Regions from separate parts of the Homo sapiens genome. Here region 1 is linked to region 2. The links are contacts of gene promoters, found by promoter capture Hi-C in human tissues and cell types (Jung and others, 2019). All regions are on one chromosome and are shown on one strand. Each heading gives the region's core, a stretch centred on a gene start or on the middle of the fragment in contact. The rest is flanking DNA. Distances are from core to core; before and after follow the strand shown. Region 1 holds the start of CLK2 (CDC like kinase 2). Region 2 holds the start of SLC50A1 (solute carrier family 50 member 1).

What was found. The method cuts DNA at HindIII sites, captures the fragments that hold promoters and counts their contacts. A contact is called where the count stands out against the background at its distance.
Region 1: a fragment that was not itself captured here is called in contact with the fragment with the promoter of SLC50A1 in region 2 in 1 of the 25 tissues and cell types used here (dorsolateral prefrontal cortex).

What each region holds. Positions count from the first base shown.
Region 1 is chr1:155,269,543-155,276,401 of GRCh38, forward strand. It overlaps CLK2 (CDC like kinase 2), which reads right to left and starts at 3,962. Exons shown (of 13, transcript NM_001294338.2): 1 at 3,659-3,962; 2 at 1,266-1,435; 3 at 1-174. The coding sequence starts at 1,435. RefSeq lists an enhancer at 4,555-5,055. The HindIII fragment of the contact is 5,946 bases long and covers 1-5,251 here.
Region 2 is chr1:155,134,134-155,139,986 of GRCh38, forward strand. SLC50A1 (solute carrier family 50 member 1) reads left to right here and starts at 1,719. Exons shown (of 6, transcript NM_018845.4): 1 at 1,719-1,858; 2 at 2,166-2,243; 3 at 2,695-2,818; 4 at 3,428-3,589; 5 at 3,846-3,965; 6 at 4,047-4,720. The coding sequence starts at 1,779. The coding sequence ends at 4,148. EFNA1 (ephrin A1) reads left to right here. Exons shown (of 5, transcript NM_004428.3): 5 at 1-766. DPM3 (dolichyl-phosphate mannosyltransferase subunit 3, regulatory) reads right to left here. Exons shown (of 2, transcript NM_153741.2): 2 at 5,758-5,853. The coding sequence ends at 5,829. RefSeq lists an enhancer at 1,160-1,249 and a silencer at 1,520-1,759. The HindIII fragment of the contact is 5,011 bases long and covers 1-2,588 here.

The DNA of each region.
Region 1 (6,859 bases), core at 1,029-3,528, 140 kb after region 2:
CGGCTGCTGCGCTGGCTGCGGTAACTGCTGTTCTCCCGCTGATATTCATAGGAATGCCGATAGTCTGTGTCATAGTAGGCATCTCCCCGATCCCGGCTATAATCGTTGCGTCTGTAGCTGCCACAGTATCGCCGGTCATACACCCTCCGGTCGGACGAACGATCATCATAACTGCTGTTGGATAACAAATACCAATGAGGTGTATCTGTTCAGATCACATTCCCTACCATACCCTGTGACAAGGTCCTGCCTTAGTGAGGACAAAGAGTAATGCTAGAAAACTGTTCTCAGACACTTGTTGAGTCACTGAGAGGACCAAGGGACCAGAGAAGTGAGGTAACAAGCACATCTGCCATGTCACCAAAACCTCTGAAAAGGCATCTGCAGAACCACTCCCTATTGGGGCCTTTTTCCCGCTGCAGTGATACAAAGAAACAAAGAGCCATTTTTTTCTCAAGCTTTCCTGAATGAAATCCCCCCTTGCTCTAAACCATCCTTAACCCATTCTTTCCACTGAACATACCACTAAAATATTAAAACTGGGCCGGGCACAGTGGCTCACGCCTGTAATCCCAGCACTTTGGGAGGCCAAGGCAGGTGGAGCACTTGAGGTCAGGAGTTTGAGGCCAACATGGTGAAATCCTGTCTCTACTAAAAATACAAAAAAAAAAAAAAAAAATTAGCCAGGCATGATGGCGCATGCCTGTAGTCCCAGGTACTTGGGAGGCTGAGGCACAAGAATCGCTTGAACCTGGGGCCATAGAGTTTGCAGTGAGCTGAGATCTTGCCACTGCACTCCAGCCTGGGCAACAGAGTGAAACTCTGTCTCAAAAATAAATAAATGATATTTTAAAATTTTTAAAAAATTAAAAACACAAAGATCTAACTTTGTCTTATCTGTTAGCTTATTAGTTACCTGTAGCTCCCAGTCCTTTGCACATGCTTTCCCTCTGCCCAAAGACACTTCCCCCACCTGACTCTACTTGTCCTCCAGACATATACAGATGTTGCTTTCTCTGCAATGTTTTATCTGAATTAACATCCTGCCCCACTCCAACCAAACGCACTGGGTACGTCCTCAGTTCCTCATTATGTATTCTAACACTTAACACTGCAGCCCAAATGGCTTCTTTGGTTATCTATCCCGACATTACCTTCAGCCAGCTACTTAAGGCAATGGTTTTAGCATATAACCAATAAGTATTTGTTGAACAAAGGAATGAGCGAGTGACCCTGTGTTTGAGTATCTCTTCCTGAGGCCTCACCTTCGAGAACGGACATGGTAGCTGTCCTCTCGCCGACGCCGTCGTGTCCGGTCACTACTACTTGACCAGGAGCGACTTCTTCGTCGCTTATGCTTTCGGCTCCGATAGTGTTCACGGTAACTCCCCCGGCTGCCTCGCTCTGAGGAGTGGTACCTTCGAGGATGCGGCATCTGGAAGGCAAGGGAAAGCGGAAATAGGAAAGTTTCGAGTTTTCAGAAATCTCCTCCAAGGACTGGCTGCTCCAAAGATGCTAAGCTGCTTTCCCCTCTTATTTCTGCCTCTTTTTACCAGGCACAACTTCCTCAGTCTTCCTCTGTACTTACAATTCCTCCTTATTGGAGTACAGCCACCTACTAACTCTGGCTGAAACTCTAGAAAGCCCCCAAACCCATCCCTCATTACCCACCCCTCAGTTCAAGTGTTCTTATTTTATTCTTGAGACAGAGTCTCGCTGTGTGGCCAGGCTGGAGTGCAGTGGCACAATCTCGGCTCACTGCAACCTCCACTTCCCAGGTTCAAGCAACTCTCCTGCCTCAGCCTCCTGTGTAGCTGGGATTACAGGCACGCACCACCACTCCTGGCTAATTTTTATATTTTTAGTAGAGACGGGGTTTCACCATGTTGGCCAGGATGGTCTCAAACTCCTGACCTCGTGATCCTCCTGCCTCGGCCTCCCAAAGTGCTGGGATTACAGGCGTGAGCCACCGCACCCAGCCAGTTCAAGTGTTCTATCCTTATTTTCTTCAAACACAGCTCCATGAAGACCTTCAGGTCTAGGACACAGTTCACTACAGAGCAAAGTGTATGACGACCGATGGAGACTGCCACAGTGTATCCCCGTTCAGGATCTAAGATATAGATCTGTGTGATGCTGAGTTCCTCACAAGTCAATAGAGTAAAGCTTTGGTTTACAGTTATGATAAATGTTGTACACTCATTAAGAGTACATCTCATCTCCTCAAGTAGACTATCAGTGTCCTGAGGGTAGGAATCCAGTCTCCCAGGTTTCTACATATACCAGGTAAACGCCAAATACTATCAGCTCCAGGGATCTGGGTCGGGCCCCTTGAATTAACTTAATCATCTCTCACATCTTTGGCCAACTCTCCCTTGAGAGGTTTTAATGTAGTAGGCCACAAAATACAGTCAGCATCCCATCTGGCCCCTCCACTCTTGTGCTTAAGACGTAGATAACAACTGTTTCTTGTGTTTTTTTTTTTTTTTTTGAAACGGAGTTTTGCTCTTGTTGCCCAGGCTGGAGTGCAATGGCGCAATCTCGGCTCACCATAACCTCCGCCTGCAGGGTTCAAGCGATTCTCCTGCCTCAGCCTCCCGAGTAGCTGGGATTACAGGCATGCGCCGCCACGCCCAGCTAATTTTGTATTTTTAGTAGAGACAGGGTTTCTCCATGTTGGTCAGGCTGGTCTCGAACTCCCAACCTCAGGTGATCCGCCCGCCTTGGCCTCCCAAAGTGCTGGGATTACAGATGTGAGCCACCGCGCCTGGCCAGTAAGTGGTTTTTAATTAATATCAGCCCTACTTAGCTGACAGCTGGCCACCTTCCAGTTAATGGAATTGGAATGGGATGGTTCACAAATCCTTTTTTTCCTTCAAGGAAAAAAGAGAAAAATCACTGTCACAATCCAGGAAGATGAGAATAGGAAGGCACAATAAAATGAAACAGGCCCAGGGACATAAGTCTTGGTGGGGGTGTATGAGAATCGCGTATGCAAAAGGTTTAATGATTCCGATGTCTGACCACCATTCTGTATCACTTCTTCCCAACCTCCCCAAATTGAGGAGGGTGGTATTTGATGCATTCTTGGTGTAACTGGGGCCGGTAGCATACCAAGCTGCAAGCACAAGATTTTCCCAGCATAGTTATCCTAATCAGCATAGCCACATAAATGCCATCTCACCACATACTACCATCAAACGGCCTCACAGCACTGTCCCCTCAAAACATCACTAGCCTACCTTTCTCAAGTTTGAAATCTTTTGCTTTTTCCTTTCTTACTCAGAAAATCCAGAACTCCTACAGGCAAATTCTTCCTGCATGTTCCAAGTGACACGGTGATGTATTCCTCCCCTCCAGCTTTGATTGGACCCGAGTCCAACTTTGATATTCCACTCCTTCACATCTCTGGAACCACTCCCATCCTTACTCTATCATCCCTTCTAGTCTGGTTCCGCCCAAGCTTCCTACAGGTCTTCTTGGTACATCTAACGCAGGCCGACCTCCTTCCCCCTCATCTCCCTACTCCGTCGCTTCGTAGGTCTCAACTCTCCTCCTCTCCAAATCTCGCCCCCGTCCCTTGCCCCCAACCCAAGCCTAACCCCGCCCGCCCCGCGGTCGCCATCTTTTCGCGCGGCCAGCCAACCCGCGCGCTCACCGTTCTGGCGGCGAGGCCCGTGCGCTTGTCCCACAGGAAGTCCGTGATGGCGGCGACACTGCGGCCGGAGTCCCGGCACCCCCGCGGCGACGAAATGCTGCTCCACCCCCCCAACCCGGGACCCTGGGACCTCCCGCCCCGTTCCCGGGCTCCGCTTCAGTCCCGCCCGCCCCGGCTCCGTCCCCGCCCCTAAGATCTGCTTGGCGCCGCTCGCACCGCCCCCGCCCGGGGCCCGATCCCAGCTCGGTCTCCGGCTCTGGCCTCTCCGCTCCGCCGCCGCCGCCGTGAGCGAGCACGTACGCACGGACCGACGTCCTGCGTCGCTTCCCAGCTACCCCCTGGGCTCCGCCCCCAGGACCGCGCGCGCCACCACGTGCTCACGTAGTTGGCAGGCATCCGCCTGTCAGAGCCTCGGAGGTACTGGGGGCGGAAGTTCATAGGGGCGAGGAGGGTCCACAGGGACAAGCTGGAAGCCTTCCAGGCCCGCTATGCCCCGCCTCCTGTCCTTTCCCACTCCGTCTTCAATCTTTTACCCTTTGCATGGAGACGTGTGGCTTAGTTAGGTTTGGAGTTTAAAAGAAAGGATTGTCATTGTCAATACAGTGTCGCTGCTCTGCAAGCCTGACTGTAGTGAGGCTTGATGGTGAAGTCTCATTCTTCTGCATAGCCTGAAAATAACCATTTCTTAAAACACTTCACCTACCTATCCCCAGGACAAAAGTCTGCCACCTTTTGTCATCAACAAAAGTTATGCACGACTCGGGGTGGGGACACAGCCATGGAGGAAAGGTTTGAGCAATGGAGGGTTGGAGAATCGGGTGCCGAAAAGGGGGACTTACTTGAGAACTGTATCCTAAGGTGGCTTACATAATGTGTGAGAAATACAAGTTTACTAGGGCCGGGCGCGGTGGCTCTCGCCTATAATCCCAACACTTTGGGAAGCCGAGGCGGGCGGATCACGAGGTCAGGAGTTCGAGATTAGCCTGATCAACATGGTGAAATCCCGTCTCTACTAAAAATACAAAAATTAGCCGGGCATGGTGGCGGGCGCCTGTAATCCCAGCTACTCAGGAGGCTGAGGTAGGAGAATCGCTTGAACCCGGGAGGCGGAGGTTGCAGTGAGCCGAGATCGGGCCATTGCACTGCAGCCTGGGTGACAGAGCGAGACTCTGTCTCAAAAAAAAAAAAAAAAAAAAAAAAAAGCGCGCATCACCACGCCCAGCTATTTTTTTTTTTCTTGTAGAGATAGTGCCTCACTTTGTTACCCAGGCTAGTCTTGAACCCCTGAGCTCAAGCAATCCTCCCCCATCGGCCTCCCAAAGTGCTGGGATTACAAGCATCAGCCACGGCGCTTGGCCAGTTTACTAAATCTTAAAAAAGAACAGGAAGGCTGGGCGAGGTGGCTCACGCCTGTAATACCAACACTTTGGGAGGCCAACGTGGGTGGATCACTTAAGCATAGGAGTTTGAGACAGCCTGGGCAACAGGGCAAAACCCAGACTCTTAAAAAAATACAAGGCCGGGCGCGGTGGCTCACGCCTGTAATCCCAGCACTTTGGGAGGCCAAGGCGGGCGGATCACGAGGTCAGGAGATCGAGACCATCCTGGCTAACACGGTGAAACCCCGTCTCTACTAAAAATACAAAAAATTAGCCGGGCGAGGTGGCGGGCGCCTGTAGTCCCAGCTACTCGGGAGGCTGAGGCAGGAGAATGGCGTGAACCCCAGGGGGCGGAGCCTGCAGTGAGCCGAGATTGCGCCACTGCACTCCAGCCTGGGCGACAGCGAGACTCCGTCTCAAAAAAAAAAAAAAAAAAAAAAAAAAAAATACAAAAATTAGGCCAAGCGCGGTGGCTCATGCCTGTAATCCCAACAGTTTTGGAGGCCCAGGAAGGTGGATCACTTGAGCACAGGAGTTCGAGACCAGCCTGGCCAACCTGGTGAAACCCTGTCTCTACTAAAAATACAAAAATTAGCCGGGTGTGATGGCAGGTGCCTGTAATCCCAGCTATTTGGAAGGCTGAGGCACGAGAATCGCTTGAATCCAGAAGGTGGAGGTTGCAGTGAGCCGAGATGGTGCCATTGCACTCCAGCCTGGGCGACAGAGTGAGACTGTGTCTAAAATAAAATAAAATAAAAAATAAAAATTAGCCATTCATGGTGTCTCCCACCTGTAGTCCCAGCTACTCGGGAGGCTGAGGTGGGAGGATCACCTGAGCCTGGGGAGGTTGAGGCTGTAGTGACCCGTGATCGTGCCACTGCACTCCAGCTTGGGCGACAGAGTGAGACTCTATCTCAAAAAAAAAAAAAAAAAAAAAAGAAAAGAAAAGAAAAAAAGAAAATGAGAAAGAGAAAGAGTTAGAGACTTTACAGAAGGAATTGAGAAGTGGTCAGAAAGGTCAATTGAAAGAGAAATAATATAATCTGAGAATAACGATATTAAAGTCAGGGAGCTGAGCAAGGTGGCTCACACCTGTAGTCCCAGCTACTCAGGAAACTGAGGTGGGAAGATTGCTTTGAGGCTGCAGTGGGTCATGATCACACCACTGCACTCCAGCTTGAGCAACAGAGCAAGACCCTGACTCTAGAATGAGTAAATAAATAAAGTCAGGAAATATTAGAGAGGAGCTGGATGAAGGATGGTCAGATGGAGGTTAGATCAGATAACCAGACATAGTTTAGAGAAGTTCCCTGGAATAGAACATGGAGAGCAATCAATGAAGGAGTCGGGGAGAGAGAAGTAAAGATTTCACTTCCACCTCCTGGAACATTTTCCTAGATTATTAATTCATTCAACAAGCATTTACTGAATGTCCACTATGTGTCCAGAATTATGCCAGGTGCAAGGTTCCTGTTTCTCAGAGTTTCACAATCTAACAGGAGAGAAAATCTGTAAATAAATAATGAGACCATGCTCATGCCTGTAATCCTAGCACTTTGGGAAGCCAAGGCAGGAAGATCACTTGAGCTCTGAGTTCAAAACCAGCCTGGGCAACATAGTGTGACCTCATCTCTAAAATAATAATAATAATGGTAGCCCTGTGACATGAGTTGCTCAAAACAGTGGTGCCCTGGCTGCTGTAAAAAAGCTCTAGAATAGACCCTACCTGAGGAAAGGAGAGTTGGAAATGTGTTCCTAGGTTTCCTAGAGAAAGCAAGATCTGAACCAACTGTTCGAAAGTGAATTGGAGGAGAATACCAGG
Region 2 (5,853 bases), core at 469-2,968:
TCTTGGGGCCACTTTCAGAGCCCCCAGCCCTGGGAACCACTCCCACCACAGGCATAAGCTATCACCTAGCAGCCTCAAAACGGGTCAGTATTAAGGTTTTCAACCGGAAGGAGGCCAACCAGCCCGACAGTGCCATCCCCACCTTCACCTCGGAGGGATGGAGAAAGAAGTGGAGACAGTCCTTTCCCACCATTCCTGCCTTTAAGCCAAAGAAACAAGCTGTGCAGGCATGGTCCCTTAAGGCACAGTGGGAGCTGAGCTGGAAGGGGCCACGTGGATGGGCAAAGCTTGTCAAAGATGCCCCCTCCAGGAGAGAGCCAGGATGCCCAGATGAACTGACTGAAGGAAAAGCAAGAAACAGTTTCTTGCTTGGAAGCCAGGTACAGGAGAGGCAGCATGCTTGGGCTGACCCAGCATCTCCCAGCAAGACCTCATCTGTGGAGCTGCCACAGAGAAGTTTGTAGCCAGGTACTGCATTCTCTCCCATCCTGGGGCAGCACTCCCCAGAGCTGTGCCAGCAGGGGGGCTGTGCCAACCTGTTCTTAGAGTGTAGCTGTAAGGGCAGTGCCCATGTGTACATTCTGCCTAGAGTGTAGCCTAAAGGGCAGGGCCCACGTGTATAGTATCTGTATATAAGTTGCTGTGTGTCTGTCCTGATTTCTACAACTGGAGTTTTTTTATACAATGTTCTTTGTCTCAAAATAAAGCAATGTGTTTTTTCGGACATGCTTTTCTGCCACTCCATATTAAAACATATGACCATTGAGTCCCTGCTAAGTGCGAGGCTCTCTGTGCTACAACAGTAGCAACTGGGTTTGAATTTCTTTCTCTCCAAAGAATGTGTGCCCCTCACGAGGCCAAAAGGGTGGGATGTTTCCTCCTCTGAGGGCTGTCCAGGACCGGAGTGCTCCTGACAGCTGTCTCTCGGGTTCTGAGCTGCACTCCACTCTGGAAGTTCTTCCTATCCGACCTCTACCCCACTCCCACTCCGTCACCGCAGGGCTTTGGCATACTACCATTCAGGTACTCACGCTGTTTCGGTGAGTCAGGGAAGCTGGGAACGCCAGCTGAGGCATGCGGCCCCGCCCCACAGCCACACTAGCAGAGACGTGTGGGAGGCTGGGAGGGAAAGTTCCCAGTAACAAGTGGGTTGGACCGGGGGTCAGTGATAGAGGCGTCAGTGGATTGGCCACGTCATGTAAAGTTGACCCGAGAGGGAGGGCAAAAGAGGAAGGCTTGGTGATTCCTGGTAATGTGTTATTTTGAGAAAAAGCTTCGGCAGCACACTCCAGAAAAAAACTTCCCAAACCCTGGGCAACTGAGGTTCTGATGTGGAGCTCTGGATGGAAAGCGTGCTGAAGTCTTGTTAAACTAGCAAGCTTTTGTTTGGAGGTCCACCGCCGAAGGCGCACAGGCCTGTGGGAACACGAGCGTTGAGACTGGGGGCGTCTAGATGATCCAAGGGGTAGGCAGAGTGTGAGCAGCGGCAGGTATCGGGGACACACCCGCGGAGCCCTAGGAAGGGGACTGACCGGGACATGGAAGAGGTCTGGACCAGGGTACTGGGAAGGCGCTCGGAGGAGAGGGGCGCGAGTTCCGGTTCGGCGTCGGAGGGAGGGTGGGGCTTCGGCGCAGTTTCCGGAGGGACGGCCCGAGCGTGCGGGGGCGGAGCCGAGTGCGCGGGGCGGGGCTCCAGAGCCGCAGGTCTGGGCTGCAGTAGGTCCCGGCAACCGCAGGCTCGCGGCGGGCGCTGGGCGCGGGATCCGACTCTAGTCGTAATGGAGGCGGGCGGCTTTCTGGACTCGCTCATTTACGGAGCATGCGTGGTCTTCACCCTTGGCATGTTCTCCGCCGGCCTGTGAGAGTGCGGCCGGGCTGGGTTGGGGAGGACTAGGCAGTCAGGAAAGGAGAGAGAGGGGACAGAGACGTGGCCACAGCACCTGGCTCGTCCGGAACCGGGATCAAAGTGGGATCGGGTCGAGGGGACCGGGGTACAAGGGCGAGGCTGGTCACTAGGCCTGAAGGAGAAGGCAGGATAGCTGGCGGGGGGGAGAGGGGGCGGGGTCTGCGGTGGTCCGGAAAGGATGACAGGCATTGGGCATCCCCCTCTAGCACTCTGCTTCTCCCTTCCCACCCCCACCCCTCCCTTCGGGGCCCCATTACAGCTCGGACCTCAGGCACATGCGAATGACCCGGAGTGTGGACAACGTCCAGTTCCTGCCCTTTCTCACCACGGAAGTCAAGTGAGGGGCCGACGGCTGCGGTAGTGGGAAAGGCTACCAGAGGGAGGTGGGGGCGGGGCAGGAGGAGCAAGAGTGAAAGAGGTTTGGCCGGGCGCGGTGGCTCACGCCTGTAATCCCTGCACTTTGGGAGGCCGAGACGGGCGGATCACGAGGTCAGGAGATCCAGACCATCCTGGCTAACACGGTGAAACCCCGTCTCTACTAAAAATACAAAAAATTAGCCGGGCGTGGTGCCGGGCGCCTGTAGTCCCAGCTACTCGGGAGGCTGAGGCAGGAGAATGGCGTGAACCCAGGAGGCGGAGCTTGCAGTGAGCCGAGATCGTGCCACCGCACTCCAGCCTGGGCGACAGAGCGAGACTACGTCTCAAAAAAAAAAAAAGAGTGAAAGACCCTTTGGGTCCTCCTCTCACACTGAACCCTTTGAGCCATGTCCATCCCCTCCACCCTGCAGCAACCTGGGCTGGCTGAGTTATGGGGCTTTGAAGGGAGACGGGATCCTCATCGTCGTCAACACAGTGGGTGCTGCGCTTCAGACCCTGTATATCTTGGCATATCTGCATTACTGCCCTCGGAAGGTAGAGGCCCTCCCTTGGACCCACCTATCTGCTGCACGCCCTGCCTTGCTGGCAGGGCAAACACTATTTCCTAGAAGACTGTAACAGCTGGCACTGCCACCTTTTCCAGGAAGGCCTCTCCAGCCTTGCAGGTCCCCTTCCTCTATGAAGCCAGCCTTCTGAGATGAACACATTGCCCCCATTTAGGCAAGGCTGGTAGCTCTGCCTAGCCTGAGATGCCTATGCTGCCTGCCCTGGGCTTCAGCCAACAAGCTAAGGGGAAAGGGCTTTTGTCTCTGATATTTCTTTCAGAGCCAGGGCCTGTGGGTGAGAATGAGATGATTAGCTCTGCGTCCCTGCTAAATCACACAAGCATTTATGAAGCTCCTACTGTGTGTGCCAAGCACACAGAAAAAAACACATATTTATCTCCCCCAGAAGTCTCCAGTGTTGTGGGTGGATAAGACTTTCCTATCAAGTTGGTGGTGGGAAAGAAGCTGTGACAGTGCAGTGCTGGAGGCCTAGACAGCTTGGCTTCCCCATTGGAGCACTGGAGAAGGCAGGATGAATTAACTCTAGCAGGGAAGTCAGAGTGCACATCTGGAAGTAAGGGTACTCTCTCCCCTGCAGCGTGTTGTGCTCCTACAGACTGCAACCCTGCTAGGGGTCCTTCTCCTGGGTTATGGCTACTTTTGGCTCCTGGTACCCAACCCTGAGGCCCGGCTTCAGCAGTTGGGCCTCTTCTGCAGTGTCTTCACCATCAGCATGTACCTCTCACCACTGGCTGACTTGGTGAGTGGGGGTGTCCAAGGAGGTAGGAGAGATAAGAGTCAGGCTCTCATAGCCAAATACTATGGCTTACAGTCCCGAGGAAGGGGAGATCCAAACCCTGGAAGAAGACAAGGCAGTAGAAGTGGGCGAGTGGGAGGCAGGAAAGGTTGGGTGACAGATCAGGGAGGGTGTCTGACCTTTTTCTTGAGGAAATTCTTAGGCAAGTGAAGCTTTACGATGTGCTTGGGCCAAGAGAGTCTTCCATTCTTTCCCACAGGCTAAGGTGATTCAAACTAAATCAACCCAATGTCTCTCCTACCCACTCACCATTGCTACCCTTCTCACCTCTGCCTCCTGGTGCCTCTATGGGTTTCGACTCAGAGATCCCTATATCATGGTAAGCACAACTGGGATGGGGTGACAGGGGTGCAAGATGGAAAACTGGCTCCTCTCCTCATAGCAGTTCTTGTGATTTCAGGTGTCCAACTTTCCAGGAATCGTCACCAGCTTTATCCGCTTCTGGCTTTTCTGGAAGTACCCCCAGGAGCAAGACAGGAACTACTGGCTCCTGCAAACCTGAGGCTGCTCATCTGACCACTGGGCACCTTAGTGCCAACCTGAACCAAAGAGACCTCCTTGTTTCAGCTGGGCCTGCTGTCCAGCTTCCCAGGTGCAGTGGGTTGTGGGAACAAGAGATGACTTTGAGGATAAAAGGACCAAAGAAAAAGCTTTACTTAGATGATTGATTGGGGCCTAGGAGATGAAATCACTTTTTATTTTTTAGAGATTTTTTTTTTTAATTTTGGAGGTTGGGGTGCAATCTTTAGAATATGCCTTAAAAGGCCGGGCGCGGTGGCTCACGCCTGTAATCCCAGCACTTTGGGAGGCCAAGGTGGGCGGATCGCCTGAGGTCAGGAGTTCAAGACCAACCTGACTAACATGGTGAAACCCCATCTCTACTAAAAATACAAAATTAGCCAGGCATGATGGCACATGCCTGTAATCCCAGATACTTGGGAGGCTGAGGCAGGAGAATTGCTTGAACCCAGGAGGTGGAGGTTGCAGTGAGCTGAGATCGTGCCATTGTGATATGAATATGCCTTATATGCTGATATGAATATGCCTTAAAATAAAGTGTTCCCCACCCCTGCCCACGATGGTTCATTCTCTACTCATAATTCTAAACCTGCCTGGTTTGGTGAAGGATAGATCCACAGTTATTCTCAGGTTGGTAGGGTAGGCTCAGAAAAGGTATCTCAAAGAACCAAAAGGTTGGAAAGACCCAGGAAGGCCTTAAAAATAACAAAACTTGGATGTTATGAAGAATGGAACTTAGGCTTCAAGAAAGTACTTCTGGCCGGGTAAGGTGGCTTATGTCTGTAATCACAGCACTTTGGGAGGCCCAGGCAGGAGGATCACTTGAGCCCAGGAGTTTGAGAACAGCCTGAGCAACACAGCGAGACCCTGTCACTACAAAAAATTAAACATTAGCCTGGTGGCGTGGTGGCATATGCCTGTAGTCCCAGCTACTCTGGAGGCTGAGGTGGGAGAACTGTTTGAGCCTGGGAGGGTGAGGCTGCAGTGAGCCATGATTGCACCACTGCACTCCAGCCTGGGCAACAGAGTGAGACCCTGTCTCAAAAAAAAAAAAAAAAAGAAGTAGTACGCCGGGCGCGGTGACTCACACCTGTAATCCCAGCACTTTGGGAGGCCGAGGCGGGCGGATTACGAGGTCAGGAGATCAGACCATCCTGGCCAACACGGTGAAACCCCGACTCTACTAAAAATACAAAAAATTAGCCAGGCGTGGTGGCAGGCGCCTGTAGTCCCAGCTACTCAGGAGGCTGAGGCAGGAGAATGGCGTGAACCCGGGAGGCGGAGCTTGCAGTGAGCCGAGATCACGCCACTGCACTCCAGCCTGGACGACAGAGCAAGGCTCCGTCTCAAAAAAAAAAAAAAAGAAGTACTTCCTACAGGGTTGAAAGGACCAGGAAAGTGAAATGTCATTTCCATCCTGAGAAATATTGAGAAGGGGTCTTTGCCTCCTTGGGAGCAAAAATGGGAACACCAGCAAGATGCAAAGATAAAGGCTGAGATGGCCTCAAGAAGGTGGTTCTTTCACATTCACTTCTCGACCGTTAGTACATAGAATCCCCAATACCCGTTTTCCATACTCAAACTAAACGAAGTTAGAAAATAAACTGGCTCTTTAATGGGAAATGGGAGGAAGGGCTGTCCGCACAGGAATGGGGTTAGGCTGTCAGAAGCGCAGCCCCCTGCGGGCT